Linked DNA regions of Homo sapiens: regions 1, 2 and 4 are each linked to region 3. The links are contacts of gene promoters, found by promoter capture Hi-C in blood cells and fetal thymus (Javierre and others, 2016). All regions are on one chromosome and are shown on one strand. Each heading gives the region's core, a stretch centred on a gene start or on the middle of the fragment in contact. The rest is flanking DNA. Distances are from core to core; before and after follow the strand shown.

Region 1 (3,658 bases), core at 292-2,791, 580 kb before region 3:
CGGGTGGATTACCTGAGGTCAGGAGTTTGAGACCAGCCTGGCCAACATGGCAAAACCCTGTCTTTACTAAAAATACAAAAATTAGCCGGGCATGGTGGTGTGCACCTGTGATCCCAGCTACTCGGGAGGCTGAGGCAGGAGAACCATTTGAACCTGGGAGGCAGAGGTTGCAGTGAGCCAAGATCATGCCATTGCACTCCAGCCTGGGCAACAGAGTGAGACTCTGTCTCAAACAAAAAAAAAAAAAAAAAAAACAAAAAAACAGGACTTTGAAGACAGCATAAAACATCTTTATTGATTACATGTTGAGATAATGTTCCGGATGTTTAGGTTAATACTGAAATCCAGCTTGCTGTTTCTTTTCACTTTTTATTAAATGTGACCACTAGAACATTTAAAATTACACACGTGGCTTGGTCAGTATTTCTCTGGGGCAATGCTGATCTAGAGGCAGAGACCATCCCTCCCCAGCAGTTAGACCTCAAGACTAACTGCTGTCCCCTGTGGGGATGATGTGGTGGTACATTATGTCTGCTGCTCTGGTGTGGCCCTGTTTTTATTTTTGGGTGCTCAGTAAATGTTACTGGGAGAAATGAATTACAGGAAAAATGAGTCCTTTCCTAGCCTCCTTCAATGAGGTTTGCAACATTAAAGTCACCACGGGCCACTTTCACTGGAAGCTGTCAGTGTCGGAGGTTTGGAAATTAACTGAGAACTACAGACAGGAAAGGTGTAAAGCAAATTATTTTCCTATCAGATTGACATTTACAAGAATAATGGGAAGGAGCATGGAAAAGAGGAAGCAGGTCAACCTTCCTTGAGGACAATTAGATAATAGGCATCAAAAGTCTTAAGTTGTATAAAACCTGTATCCTAGAAATTTACCTTTTCGTAGTTTATTCTAAGGAATTAATTGGACAAAAGCACAAAGACATCTAATTGTATTATTAAAATGGAAAGTTTAATATTCAACAATAGCAGATAGGTTAAGTACATTAGGACATTATGAAGTGGCTTAAAACGGACATTCAAAAAAAGGAAATGGAAAACCTGAGTAATGTACAGCTTGTATGGAATGAACTAAAAATATATAAATTTTTGCATAGGTAGAATGACATTGGAAGAACATACACCACAATGTTAACTGATTATCTCTGGGTGTTGGAAAATGATTGATTTATCAACTTTTTTACTGTTATTTCTTTTCTTTTTTTTTTTTTTGCAATGAACAGGCATGCTCTGGCAGTTTTTAAATGAAGTATGGAAATTATGGATTGTGCAGTCATAGTCAACGTTCATTGAGAGCTTACTTTATATAAAGCATCATGCTCAGCATTGTGCTTTGTGGCATTTGATTTTTTAAAAATCAAACGCCCTCCAATCTTAAGCAAGGATGATGGCCAAAAGGTCGGCTTATTACCCAACTGCAACAATAGGAGGGACAGGTAATTAAAAGGCAATTGCCATGACAAATAGAAAAGATGCCAAAGTCAACATTTTTTCAAGGAGCTATAAAGCCCGTGGAGGAGTCAGCTGACGGCACAGTGTTCGCGGCTGCACCGCTCGGAGGCTGGGTGACCCGCGTAGAAGTGAAGTACTTTTTTATTTGCAGACCTGGGCCGATGCCGCTTTAAAAAACGCGAGGGGCTCTATGCACCTCCCTGGCGGTAGTTCCTCCGACCTCAGCCGGGTCGGGTCGTGCCGCCCTCTCCCAGGAGAGACAAACAGGTGTCCCACGTGGCAGCCGCGCCCCGGGCGCCCCTCCTGTGATCCCGTAGCGCCCCCTGGCCCGAGCCGCGCCCGGGTCTGTGAGTAGAGCCGCCCGGGCACCGAGCGCTGGTCGCCGCTCTCCTTCCGGTGAGTCCCAGCCCCGAGTTGGCTCTGGCGCCCGGGTACCCGCCAGTGCCGGCTGCCGATGACCGATTCACGCTCCCGGTACTGGGGCCCCCTCTGCCCAGCCACCCCTACCCAGAGCACCCGGGCTGCGCGGCCCCGCCGAGGGTGCGGGCTTTGTTCGCATTGTCTGCGCGCACCTGAGCGCGGCCTTCCTGGCACGGCGGCGTCGGGGGAAGAGCGCACCTGGCGCGCGCCTCCCTCGTGGCCACTCGCGGTCCGTCCCGGGCGAGCTGGCGGGGTTTTGGGAGGGGTGCGGTCAGCAGGTAAGTGGGTAGGGGCTCCGGGTACAGGGGTGGAGGAGGGCATGTATTAAACCCAAGCTGCCCTCCTGGCACAGTAGCGGGGCCCCCTTCCCTGGCGGCCGCGGAAAGGGACTCGCCCTTTGAATAAAGGCTTTGGTGACATGCTCGCTTCCACCCCACACCCCACTACAGGACATACACAGGTGTTAAGGGGACTTGGGGCAGTTTTCCCAGGCAGAACGAGTGCCCCCAGCGAAGTGTCTGCAAGCAGAACCTGAGAGGGGCCGGCTGCCCCGAGAGTCCTCGCGCTTGGGCAGTGGGAAGTCCAGGGGTTTGTCGTTCTGGTGACTTCCCCCACCTGGCTCAGCCCTGCTTCCTGCATGTCTCCTTCCCTTCCAATAAGGCTAACAAAACTTTCCCTAGCTAAGCCGACCTTTCCCTCCCGCCTTGGGCCCTTGGCCACCTGCTGGGACGGTGAATGGGAGAGTCTCAGAATTGAACCTTGAAAACTTGCTGGGGGCACCAGACAGAAGAGAAGGGAGGAGGGCACCTTGCTGCTTGTGATTGTGGAATCAAGGGCTCCAGCTGAAGCTGAAAGGGGACTTAGCAATGGGGACCTCATGCCATGTGTTTGATGTCTTGGAGATTGGAATAATTAGAACGTGTACATTTTTCAAATTACAAGCTGCTTTAAGTAAAACCCCAGAACCTCTAAGTGTTTTATAAATTCAGTCCCAAAAATTCAAGGTCTCTTTTGCTGTTAAGGTGACACTATATTAAGAAATGTCGATTTATTGAAGAGTCAGAGAAGTGAAGAGGTCAGAAAGGTACCACTAGAGTTGGCAAAAGCCACAGGCATGAATTTGTAAATGCTGCTGGCTTTCAGCAGGCTGAAGCCATCCTCTCTTGTGACTGATGGGGGTTCAGAGCTCCTCAGGCCTTACTCTTCTTTTGTAAAATCCAGCCCAGAGCCATCTCCTAGTAGTGTAAGAATTTCTCAGACTAGGTCCCCAGGCAAATCCCAGGTTGGAGAAGAGGATTGCTTTCCTCATCATCTCTGGCTGAAAACCATCAGTGTATTTTCATTAAATCTGGTTTTTGGTCTACCGTACAGAGATTACAGCCAGTATTTCCCCTCTCTTCAATAGGCACAAGCCCCTGGGATATCCGAATCATAGTCAGAAGCCCATGTTTTTACAGATGAGGAAACTGAGACCCAGTTTTAGAGTGTTAGGTTCAAAGCAAAATTGAGCAGAAGGTACAGGTTTCCCATATACCTCCTGTCCCCGCCTATGCACAGACTCCCCCATTGTCAGCATCCCCCACTGCAGTGGTACATTTGTTCCAACTGATGAACCGACACTGGCACATCATTATGACCCAAAGTTCACAGTTTGCCCTGGGGTTTGCTCCTGTTGTACATTCTATGGCTTTGGACAAATGTAAAATGACATAAATCTGCCATTATAGTATCAAACAGCATAGTTTCACTACCGTAAAAATCTTCTGTGCATCCCACC
Region 2 (3,849 bases), core at 692-3,191, 970 kb before region 3:
CCTGGCTAACACGGCGAAACCCCGTCTCTACTAAAAATACAAAAAATTAGCCGGGTGCGGTGGCGGGCGCCTGTAGTCCCGGCTACTCGGGAAGCTGAGGCAGGAGAATGGCATGAACCTAGGAAGCGGAGCTTGCAGTGAGCCAAGATAGCGCCACTGCACTCCAATCTGGGCAACAGAGAGAGACTCCGTCTCAAAAAAATAAATAACCAATTGGACAAGTTATCTGACTTTTAAGAACTTTCATCTATAAAATGTCAATACTAGCTACCTTATATGGTGATTGTGAAAGTTGGGTAAGTAGACAGTGTGAAAGTACCCAGCATAGTAAGGATTCAGTTAACATTTATGGAAAATAATCCAGATACTTAGGAACTTTTATGAAATAACACAATGTATTTAAACTGTTTTCTAGTCTGCCATTTGCTTTACAATTATACCGTTGACTGGTATGGTGTTTCCCAGTGTCTCATCTCTCTTTTAGGTTACTGCTTGCCTTCCTTGTTTCACTGAATTGGTATGTCTGACCTAATGAAGACTTTTTAGATTATTTAGAAACTACTACGTTTTCTGCAGTCTTACCTGTTTCAGAGCGTGGTGGAGAATCCAAACATTCAAAAACATGCCATCGAGGTGTCTGCCCTATCAATGAGGAAAAAGGCATCTGGCAATTTGGACAGTATCCATCATAAACTGGACGTATCTTTGGGGACACGTGTTGGCTTTTTTGAGTTCTACAGAGTTTTCCTGGAGTAGTTTCCTTGTCTTGGGTCTGCTGAATACCATCTCCACAACTTGAATTCTGACTAGAAGCAACAGAAGTCTGACAACCTGCATTTCCAAGGGGCACTTCATGGTCCTTCACCTCTTTAGCTTCTGCGGCTCTTTTTCTGTTTCTACTCCGTTTTGACTGGTATTTTCCATCTGTTGCTTTTTCAACAGATTTTAGAATATTTTTAGAGCCATTATTTGGATCAACTCGTTTTGGTTTTCTTTTAGATTTGTATTCCCAAATGTCTTCTTCGGAAATGTCTTCTAACATGGCAAAATGATTTTATCATTCAAGAAGTATTAATCTTAAGTAAACTGAAAGTCCATTTCTTGTCACAAACAAAAAGTTATAGAATTATTTTGCTGAGAAAAAAAACAAAGGTAACAAAACCCCCACCAACTCAATGGGAATCTGCAGTGTTGGTAATGAACATATTGGCAAGCTACAAACCTTGTACCTGACAACACCTGCTATTCCATTTATACCACAATGAAACTAAGATAAACCTATCACAGGAGTAGCAACTGTGAAGTTCTCCATTATGGGTGCTATTTCATTCAAATATCTTGTCCTTTTCCAGGGCTTGATTCATAAAAATAATACTTCAAAAATTAAGCGCTAATGGCAAATATAGGTTCAACAGCTTAATCTTAGAACGAGATTTGTAACATTGTTATGAAGCTACTGTCAGTTCTTTCAAGTGGACAACCGTCCAAATAATTCATAAATCCAACCACAGTCCCTGGACAAAGGGCTTAACAGGTATCCCAAACACTAAATGACTATCTAACAAAACTAGTCACAACATAATCAAAGAGATGTGTAATTCGCAAAAAACTGCGAAGTCACTGCCCTCATCCACGACTAGTGGATACTCAACCACTTCAGTTTCCCGCGACAGTCCATGATCTTCCTCCAGCAGCAATGAACAATCCCTGCACAGTGAACAAAAAAAGTTGATATGTGAAAAAAGTTCAAATATGTGAAAGAGTGGGCTTGTATTGAGGTCTGACTCCGTATTGCACCCATGGTTCCGAAGGTGGCCAGCCCTCTGTCCACCTGACTCAAAACGGGGTCACACGCCAGCCTCTCCCTTATCTTTTGGCATTAGAGGCTGGGAGGCCAGGAAGCGGGGCCTTAATCATCTCCAGGTTAAGCATAGCGAGCTCCAAAAAGCCCTCAGAGTCCTGCCCTTCTGAAGACTCTAAGGCCCGCCCTCAAGGACCCTCACCGCCCCCCACCTGCCACTCGGCACCCCAAGGGAGCCGCTCCAGCTGCATCCGCTCCTCCCGGCACCCCCATCTAAAAATGTGTTCGCGCCCGCACTTTCAGCACTCCCAGATGACAAAACGCTGTGTTTGTGTATAAGTGAAAGCCACTCGCGCCAGTCACTTCCAGTTTACAAAGCCTTCTCTCTGGAGGTTATCCCTACCCGCTTTACCTTTAGGGTCTTGGCGGGAACAAGTTCCCGCTGCCAGTGCCGTGTCGAATCGGCGGATGCTGTTCAAAGAGAGAGACTTTAAAAATAATTTTTAAAAATACATTGCCCTTTTAAGTCCTACGGATTTATTGTATTTTATTTGTGTTCGAAAGTCCGCTAATTCCCAATGTGGAGGGTTGGGGATGTTTCCCTTAGCGCCTCTGGGACGCTGTCCCTAAGGCCTTATTCCATGTTGAATCTGACGCTCTCAATGTCCAGGCTCGGCTGCGGCGTGGGGACCGAAAAGGGGCGGGGTGGGTCGGACGGCAGTTTAATTACGTCCCCGGGAACTGCGCCGATTTGGACTTTTGGCACTTGGACCTATGCTTTAAAAAGAAAAAAGTGTCATTGGCGTGGAGTGGGGCTAGTGGAGGGTGAGGTGAATGCGCCGTTTGGAAACCACAGGACAGTGAACGTTTCGTCTCTCCCAGCGAGACTCTCCCGCGGGCCCGGCGGCCGCATCGGGAGCCCGGCGGAAACATGGCGGCGCCCGGAGGCCGGGGCCGCAGCCTCTCCGGCCTGCTCCCCGCGCAGACCTCGCTAGAGTACGCCCTGCTCGACGCCGTTACCCAGCAGGAGAAGGACAGCCTGGTCTACCAGTATCTGCAGAAGGTGGACGGCTGGGAGCAGGACTTGTCAGTACCCGAGTTTCCGGAAGGTGAGGGGCTGGCGTCGGGGTGGGGGCCCCTCCCGGCACCTCCCCTTCCTCGGGGACGGCGCCCTCCCGCGAAGCGGTGGGCTAGGCGGGTTTGTGCCGCTGGCGCCCCGGGGAGTGGCCCTTCGCCTAACTTGGGCCGCTGTTCGCGTGTTCTGCAATTCCCAGGGGTCCCCAAGCGGCCACCGACGGGGGTTTCCCTGGCACGGGGATCCACATACTCGTCTGTGTATCCTGAGTTCCGCCCGCGCCTGATATTAGCCAAGTGGACACTCCGTGAATATTTAGTGTCCCCGGTGGCAATGATTGCAACGTCCACACCATTCTGTCCATTCAATCTGGTTCCCCAGTGTCTTCTGGTCATCTTTCTGCATCATCTTGACATTTATTGATCACTTTTTCATGTATCACACACAGGGTTTTTTTTTGTTTTTTTTTGATACGGAGTCTCGCTCTGTCTCCCAGGCTGGAGTACAGTGGCGTGATCTTGGCTCACTGCAACCTCCGCCTCCCAGGTTCAGGCGATTCACCTGCCTCAGCCTCCGGAGTAGCTGGGACTACAGGCCCGCGCCACCACGCCTGGCTAGTTGTTTTGTTTTGTTTTGTTTTGTTTTGTTTTGTTTGTATTTTTAGTAGAGACGGCGTTTCACTATGTTGGCCAGGCTGGTCTCGACCTCCTGATTTCAAGTGATCCTCCCGCCTCCGTTTCCCAAAGTGCTGGGATTACAGGCGTGAGCCACCGCGCCCGGCCTGCCACACACAGTCCTAAACACTTGAGGGGATACCTAAACACTTGAGGAGATATTACCTTATTCAATTACCTCTATATCCCAGTGAGGTGCTCCTATCATTCCCCTTTCACAGTTGAGGAAATGGAAGCACAGAGAGGTTAAGTCACATGCCCAGGGCCTCACAGCTGATAACTGCCCCAGTTGGATTATA
Region 3 (3,634 bases), core at 84-2,583:
GTGTATACATGTATGTGTGTGTGTGTGTGTGTGTGTGTGTGTGTGTGTGTGTATTTTTTTTTTTTTTTTTGAGATGGAGTTTTGCTCTTGTTGTCCAGGCTGGAGCGCAATGGCGCAACCTTGGCTCACTGCAACTTCCGCCTCCCGAGTTCAAGGATTCTCCTGCCTCAGCCTCCCAAGTAGCTGGGATTACAAGCATGTAATCCCATTACACCACCACGTTCGGCTAATTTTTTTTTTTTTTTTTTTTTTGTATTTTTAATAGAGACGGAGTTTCACCATGTTGGCCAGGCTGGTCTCGAACTCCTGGCCTCAAGTGATCCTCCCGCCTTTGCCTCCCAGAGTGCTGAGATTACAGGCGTGAGCCACCGCGCCTGGGCCAGATACGTATTTTCAGCACTGGTTGTGCAAAACTCACTCCCCACCTCATCTTAAGAACTTAATGAACCTTTTGGTAAAACGCCAATACCAGCATAAAACAAATTTCTTCAGGATACAAATATTTTCATAATTTGTATTAACTCAACCTAAACTTTACCAGCCTGAACTGCTTCTTCAAGGCTTGACTAATACACTGTTAGGGAGTATTTTAAGCAGCCTCCACCCAAGTGCTTACCTTGTAGCTCTATTTATCTGCCTTAGGCATTTACTGGACTCCTTTCAGATTCTTTCCCTCGCTAATGTTTTCCGGTATCATCTGATAACTGAATAGAAAATGCTGTTCTGAATCACTACACCTCACTATCAACCATATCACAAATAAATTATGTTATATATTATATATAAATATTATAATGGGCTATTTAAACTAAGCCAGCCGTCTTACCATGTGCTCATGTGGGATTTCCTGTTTCAATGTTGAATAATAATATATTTTAAAGTTAGCAAAGCCATTTCACCTGCAGTCGTTGATTTCTTCAAAATCTGAGCATTTAAATCCATTGCCAATGTTTGCTTAAAGAACACTGTTTTCTTAACGAGTCTTCCAAATCGGTCCTTACAGGAAGAACCTCTGAATGCTATACGCATATATGGACGGCTGCGTGTCCCTACAAAGTCAGCCTGTTACTTCCACTGGAGAAACAAAACTCTTGAGAATCGCTGAGCTGTAAAAATGTTAGAAAGCCGGTGTCCCAGGCGCCCTGAGAAAGCCGGGAGAGGGCGGTGGCTGCCCACAGGCCGCCTCCAGCCCCGCGCGAGGCCGAGGCCTCAGCGCGCCCCCCGCCCCCGCGGCGCCTAGCGGCCCCGCCGCAGGGCAGGCCTGGCCGGGCCTCCCCGGGCTGCGGCGGCGCCCCCTGCAGGCCGCGGCGGGCAGAGCGGGGGGAAGGAACCCGAGCCGGGCTGCCACCGTGTCCCAACCGGTGCCGCCGCCGGAGCTTCTCCGGGCCCCGAGTCCTCGCCGAACGCCCTCCTCGCCGCCCGCCGCGTCCCGGCGCCCTCCGGAGCCGCCGAGCCGCCCGCGCACACCTGAAGCGGCCGGGCCAGGCCCTGCCTCGATCCTCAGCTCGTCCTCCCCGCCCCGCACCGGCCTTCACTCTGGAGCGGCCCCGGCAGCCGCAGCAGGGGCGGCGGCGGCGGATCGAGGAGCTCTCCAGGTCGTCCCGGGAGAGGCTGCTGCAGTCCCGGGACAGGATGTTCTCCAAGTTCACCTCCATCCTGCAGCACGCCGTGGAGGCGGTAAGGCCGCGGGCTGCGGGCGCACGGCAGGCCGGGGATGGCGGCGGCCTACGCTCCCCGGCGGCCTCGGGGACAAGCCGGGCGGCCTTGGCCCGGCCCTCGGCGGCCCTGTCCCCGGTTGGGGTGAGGCCCCAGGCGGGCGCCCTGGGCGGCCGCCGGGTCGTGGGGGCGCCCGGGGCCTCGGGCCTGGCTCTGCGGGGGTCCCGTCGGTCCCTGGCTGCCCCAGGCCGGCAGTCCCTGCCCTCCTCCAGGAGCCGGGGCGGGGGTGCCGGGGAGGACCTGGCCGCCCAACGCCGCTCGGTGGTCGCCTCATTCCTCTGATGGGGCCGGGGGTTCGGGGAGCACCTGGCGGGGTCGCAGAGAGCTCCCCCGGGCTCCCTTAACGTTAACCTTCTCCGGAAAAAAAGTGGTCAGCGTTGAGCAAGACAAAAGAAACGAGCAAGCACCGCTTGGGCTTGGTTCTGTTTTGTTTTGGTTTTCGGGGGTAGAGGTGGGAGAGGCATGGTCTCGCTGTGGGGCGTCCCTGGCGAGGGAGCCGCCGACCAGCCCCCGGGTTGCTGGCTTTTGCTTTCTTGGGCCTGGAGGCCGAACTCAGCTGAACCTTATGTATTGATCTGAAATAGGAGTTTGGAGGGTCCAGTCGAGTTTGCTTTCGACAGCTTCCAAGCTCACCGAGCCCAGAGACCATCTGTTTCCTTTCTTGTCTAGTTCTCTTCCTGGACACTCTTCGTTTATCCTGCAATTGTACTCTCCTTTGAGGGTTTTAGACACCAGCATAGAGACAGTATTCAAGTATCCTAGTAGACTAATAAGTGAAAAGAAACTAAAAAGAAAATGCCTTGTCACTGTTCTAGTAAGAATGCTAGTTGCTTCACTTGTTTACTTTATTCTGGGAGAACTGCCCAAATTGAAAAATGCATTCTGTGCAGAAACAATTACTTTGCTAATTTTTAACATGACATTCTCTTCCTATGTTCATATTATGTGATAGGACACTTTAAAATGTACACTTTAAAAATGTCAGATACAACAATGATTTTTTATGGGCAGGCAAAAATGGAGTTTTTGCCTTCAGTAATAAAAACAAACTTTAGTACAATTGTTATTTAAGTGATACATGAGAAGCGTTAAAAAATTTAGCTCTAGGGCAAGCTCTTGGGAAAATGTATCAAACAGGAAAAACAGGGTTTCATAAATGTAGAGCAGTATTACACGGAGGGAAATGACAGTGGTAGACTTCAAGACAACTTTTAGTTTTTACTTGCTTATACACACTCTACTTTTGTTGAAAGAATTTAACTGCAGTTTATTAAAACATTTAAATTTTGTTTTCTTTAAAAATACCAAGAATCATTTAATTTTATTTATTTATTTATTTATTTATTTTTTGAGACCGAATCTCATTCTGTCACCCAGGTTGGAGTGCAGGGGTGTGATCTCAGGTCACTGCAACCTCCGCCTCCCGGATTCAAGCGATTCTCCTGCCTCAGCCTCCCTAGTAGCTGGGATTACAGGCACCCGCCACCACACACGGCTAATTTTTTTTTTTTTTTTTAGTAGAGATGGGGTTTCACCATGTTAGCCAGGCTGCTCTCGAACTCCTGACCTCAAGTGATCGCCCGCCTTGGCCTCCCAAAGTGCTGGGATTACAGGTGTGAGCCACCACACCCGGCCCGAATCATTTTAACCTTGAATATATGAAATACTTGGGAACACTTAATGAGATACTTGGTAATCAAAATTTACTATATTGCAGTCAGCTGTCTTATCCGTAGGCTCTGCACCTGTGATTTAACCAAACTCAAGTAAAAAAATATTTGAGGGGGAAAAAAATTCTGCAGAGTTCCAAAAAGCAAAACTTGAATTTGCCATATTCAAGTACTGCCTTGAATCCATGTGAATGAAGTGATGTGTAGGCATTGTATTAGGTATTAGAAGCAATCTAGAGATGATTTAA
Region 4 (3,505 bases), core at 809-3,308, 780 kb before region 3:
AAAGAAAGAAGCCAGGAGTCTCAGGCTTTCAGTGACTTGGATAACTTGGGGTGTAGTCTCCTTCCTCCCCTTTCTAACGCCTCTTGTTTCCTGGCCACTCCTCCTCAACCTCCCCAAGTTGGAAAATCAGCTGATAAATCATGGGCAGGGGGTGAATAAACAAATCACTCCCCAGTTTTAACATACTGATGCTGAGGTTTGGGCCTAAAGCAAATTCATATGTTTGCATTTATGTAAGAGAAAGTGGTTAAAACTGCTTGATTTTATATAAACTTGAAAAACATTACTTTTTGCTTTTGACCTGGACAGCTGTGGAAGTCGGTCTCTCCTTGCAAGGTAAGGATATGAGCTTGGTCATATTGATGACCATCAACGAACATGATGTTCGTTACGGGCGCTGTTCTTATTCCAATGCTAGAAGGACCTGTGAGCATTATATAACATTTTCATGCACCCTTACATAAACAATTAGAAGCTGTTTACTCCTCAAGGACTCAATTAGAGATTTTTTTAATTTTTTTATTTTTTTTTTTATTTCAGGCCTGAGCTGAGGACACTACAGGAGCCAAATTAGAGAAGGGGCTTGCAGTCCTGCCATATTGCATATTCATGGCTTTCTTGTCCCCTCACCCCCAGTATAATCCTTTTTGCCAGGTTAACAACTCACTAATTTCAAAGCAATTCATTTGCCAACTCAAAAAAAAAAAAAAAAAAAACCACAGATACAACTTTAAATGCTTTTGGATTTTAATCCTCTGGAGTATTTATATGTTTTCTTGTCTCATCCCTTCAAAACTAATCTCAGAGTTTTGAGAATCTGGGAACTTGGGCAAAGGAGAAAACAAGCACGCAGACCAAGGAATCTGAAATCGCAGTTCATTACGTCAGCATAAACTGACAGTACCTTTTTGTTTGTATTGACCCAGCTCAAATTATAAAATCACATGAGTAATAAAACACAAAATACAGGTGTTATCATTGAAAAGTCTAAAATGTAATTAAACGCGTTTTTTCCCCCTCGCGGTGGTATCGTTTACTCTGTATCTCAACGTTTCTGTCTCCCTAAGCCTCTCCTTTCATATCATGAGCATACATTTTTGCATCATGCTCACACGTTCATTAGCTAGGACTGAGGAGTGTGTACGATTCCAAAGGGCCCTCAGCGTTAGCTGTTAGATGCACAAACCTTCGCTTCCTTTCCACATCTACTGCACTCGAGGTTCAACAGAGGATCCTTGCAAGAACAGCGCCCAGAGAGCATTCTTGACAGATGCGCGCTTGGCTCCAGCAACCCGCTCTGCTGGGAAGTTTCTTCTAACCACTAACACCCACCTCCAATCCCCCAAGCTGTCACGACGCATGCTGGCTGGGTCCCGTCTTGACGGGGGAAGGGTTTTACACACACCCTGCTAGGCTGCCCCACATCACAACCAAGCTCGCAGGGCAAACTCCTCCAAGCCTGGCGGACAAGCTGTCCCAGGCGCTCTGGCGCTTCCTGAACACCAAGGTCCCCTCCCCGCTCAAGGGAGCTAGCGCTCTGTTCCGCAGAGAACCCCGGAACTGCAGGTCGAGGGGATGCGGGGGGAGCGGGGGCGCAGGAGGGAGCCGAGTGCTGGAGGCAAACGGGGCGCAGGAGCGGGTGCGGGAGGCAAACGGGGCGCAGGAGCGGGTGCGGGAGGCAAACGGGGCGCAGGAGTGGGTGCGGGAGCGAGTGGGGGCTGAGGGAGGGGACGGGGCCCCGGGGGGAGCCAGGCGCGGAAGGGGGCGCGGGGGAACAGGGACCAGGAACCAGCGGGCGCAGGAAGGGGTGCGTCCGCAGGAACCCGCGGGCGCACGGGAGGCACTAGCTACGCGATCAGCTCGGGACTCTCAGGAGCCGCTCAATTGCCAACGGGAGGGGGGTGCGGGGAGTTGGAGGTGGGGGTGCAGACCAGACGGGGGCGTGCCTTTGCCCGGATTGGCTGCAGGAGCCTGACGCGAGGCCCCGGGGGTTGGCTTGGGGAGTGGGAGCGGGGTGGGGTGGGTGCTGGGTGCCGGAGCTGCGGGCCCGGCGCGCTCAGAAACATGCTGAAGTCCCGGCGGCTCTTCCAGCAGCGGCAGCGGCTCCAGCAGCAGCGGCGGCGGCGGCGGCGGCGGCAGCGGCAGCGACAGCGCTCGGCTCCTGCGGGAAAGGCGCCCGGCGCCCATGCCTCCGGCCCCGCGCCGCGGCTGCCCTGACCCGGCCGCGACCTCCCTCTGCGCACCACGCCGCCCGGGCTTCTGGGGTGTTCCCCAACCACGGCCCAGCCCTGCCACACCCCCCGCCCCCGGCCTCCGCAGCTCGGCATGGGCGCGGGGGTGCTCGTCCTGGGCGCCTCCGAGCCCGGTAACCTGTCGTCGGCCGCACCGCTCCCCGACGGCGCGGCCACCGCGGCGCGGCTGCTGGTGCCCGCGTCGCCGCCCGCCTCGTTGCTGCCTCCCGCCAGCGAAAGCCCCGAGCCGCTGTCTCAGCAGTGGACAGCGGGCATGGGTCTGCTGATGGCGCTCATCGTGCTGCTCATCGTGGCGGGCAATGTGCTGGTGATCGTGGCCATCGCCAAGACGCCGCGGCTGCAGACGCTCACCAACCTCTTCATCATGTCCCTGGCCAGCGCCGACCTGGTCATGGGGCTGCTGGTGGTGCCGTTCGGGGCCACCATCGTGGTGTGGGGCCGCTGGGAGTACGGCTCCTTCTTCTGCGAGCTGTGGACCTCAGTGGACGTGCTGTGCGTGACGGCCAGCATCGAGACCCTGTGTGTCATTGCCCTGGACCGCTACCTCGCCATCACCTCGCCCTTCCGCTACCAGAGCCTGCTGACGCGCGCGCGGGCGCGGGGCCTCGTGTGCACCGTGTGGGCCATCTCGGCCCTGGTGTCCTTCCTGCCCATCCTCATGCACTGGTGGCGGGCGGAGAGCGACGAGGCGCGCCGCTGCTACAACGACCCCAAGTGCTGCGACTTCGTCACCAACCGGGCCTACGCCATCGCCTCGTCCGTAGTCTCCTTCTACGTGCCCCTGTGCATCATGGCCTTCGTGTACCTGCGGGTGTTCCGCGAGGCCCAGAAGCAGGTGAAGAAGATCGACAGCTGCGAGCGCCGTTTCCTCGGCGGCCCAGCGCGGCCGCCCTCGCCCTCGCCCTCGCCCGTCCCCGCGCCCGCGCCGCCGCCCGGACCCCCGCGCCCCGCCGCCGCCGCCGCCACCGCCCCGCTGGCCAACGGGCGTGCGGGTAAGCGGCGGCCCTCGCGCCTCGTGGCCCTGCGCGAGCAGAAGGCGCTCAAGACGCTGGGCATCATCATGGGCGTCTTCACGCTCTGCTGGCTGCCCTTCTTCCTGGCCAACGTGGTGAAGGCCTTCCACCGCGAGCTGGTGCCCGACCGCCTCTTCGTCTTCTTCAACTGGCTGGGCTACGCCAACTCGGCCTTCAACCCCATCATCTACTGCCGCAGCCCCGACTTCCGCAAGGCCTTCCAGGGACTGCTCTGCTGCG

The links. The method cuts DNA at HindIII sites, captures the fragments that hold promoters and counts their contacts. A CHiCAGO score of 5 or more calls a contact.
Region 1: a contact is called between the fragment with the promoter of VWA2 here and the fragment with the promoter of FHIP2A in region 3, in 11 of 17 cell types (M2 macrophages, fetal thymus, total CD4 T cells and 8 more). The highest score is 12.9, in M2 macrophages.
Region 2: the fragment with the promoter of DCLRE1A here is called in contact with the fragment with the promoter of FHIP2A in region 3 in 9 of 17 cell types (total CD4 T cells, activated CD4 T cells, naive CD4 T cells and 6 more); the score reaches 12.8 in total CD4 T cells.
Region 4: the fragment with the promoter of ADRB1 here is called in contact with the fragment with the promoter of FHIP2A in region 3 in 4 of 17 cell types (activated CD4 T cells, neutrophils, naive CD8 T cells and 1 more); the score reaches 10.2 in activated CD4 T cells.

What each region holds. Positions count from the first base shown.
Region 1 is chr10:114,237,713-114,241,370 of GRCh38, forward strand. It overlaps VWA2 (von Willebrand factor A domain containing 2), which reads left to right and starts at 1,542. Exons shown (of 14, transcript NM_001272046.2): 1 at 1,542-1,857. RefSeq lists an enhancer at 1,453-2,161. The HindIII fragment of the contact is 4,541 bases long and covers 1-3,658 here.
Region 2 is chr10:113,852,141-113,855,989 of GRCh38, forward strand. It overlaps DCLRE1A (DNA cross-link repair 1A), which reads right to left and starts at 1,942. Exons shown (of 9, transcript NM_014881.5): 1 at 583-1,942. The coding sequence starts at 1,042. NHLRC2 (NHL repeat containing 2) reads left to right here and starts at 2,521. Exons shown (of 11, transcript NM_198514.4): 1 at 2,521-2,910. The coding sequence starts at 2,733. RefSeq lists a silencer at 2,631-2,990 and an enhancer at 3,001-3,705. The HindIII fragment of the contact is 6,407 bases long and covers 1-3,849 here.
Region 3 is chr10:114,820,447-114,824,080 of GRCh38, forward strand. It overlaps FHIP2A (FHF complex subunit HOOK interacting protein 2A), which reads left to right and starts at 1,334. Exons shown (of 17, transcript NM_020940.4): 1 at 1,334-1,677. The coding sequence starts at 1,633. LOC124902508 (translation initiation factor IF-2-like) reads right to left here and starts at 2,502. Exons shown (of 2, transcript XM_047426127.1): 1 at 827-2,502. The coding sequence starts at 1,655. The coding sequence ends at 1,050. RefSeq lists silencers at 1,083-1,392, 1,403-1,752, 1,813-2,032 and an enhancer at 1,738-2,238. The HindIII fragment of the contact is 9,749 bases long and covers 1-3,634 here.
Region 4 is chr10:114,041,808-114,045,312 of GRCh38, forward strand. It overlaps ADRB1 (adrenoceptor beta 1), which reads left to right and starts at 2,059. Exons shown (of 1, transcript NM_000684.3): 1 at 2,059-3,505. The coding sequence starts at 2,326. RefSeq lists an enhancer at 1,427-1,476 and silencers at 1,747-2,026, 2,097-2,156. The HindIII fragment of the contact is 8,909 bases long and covers 1-3,505 here.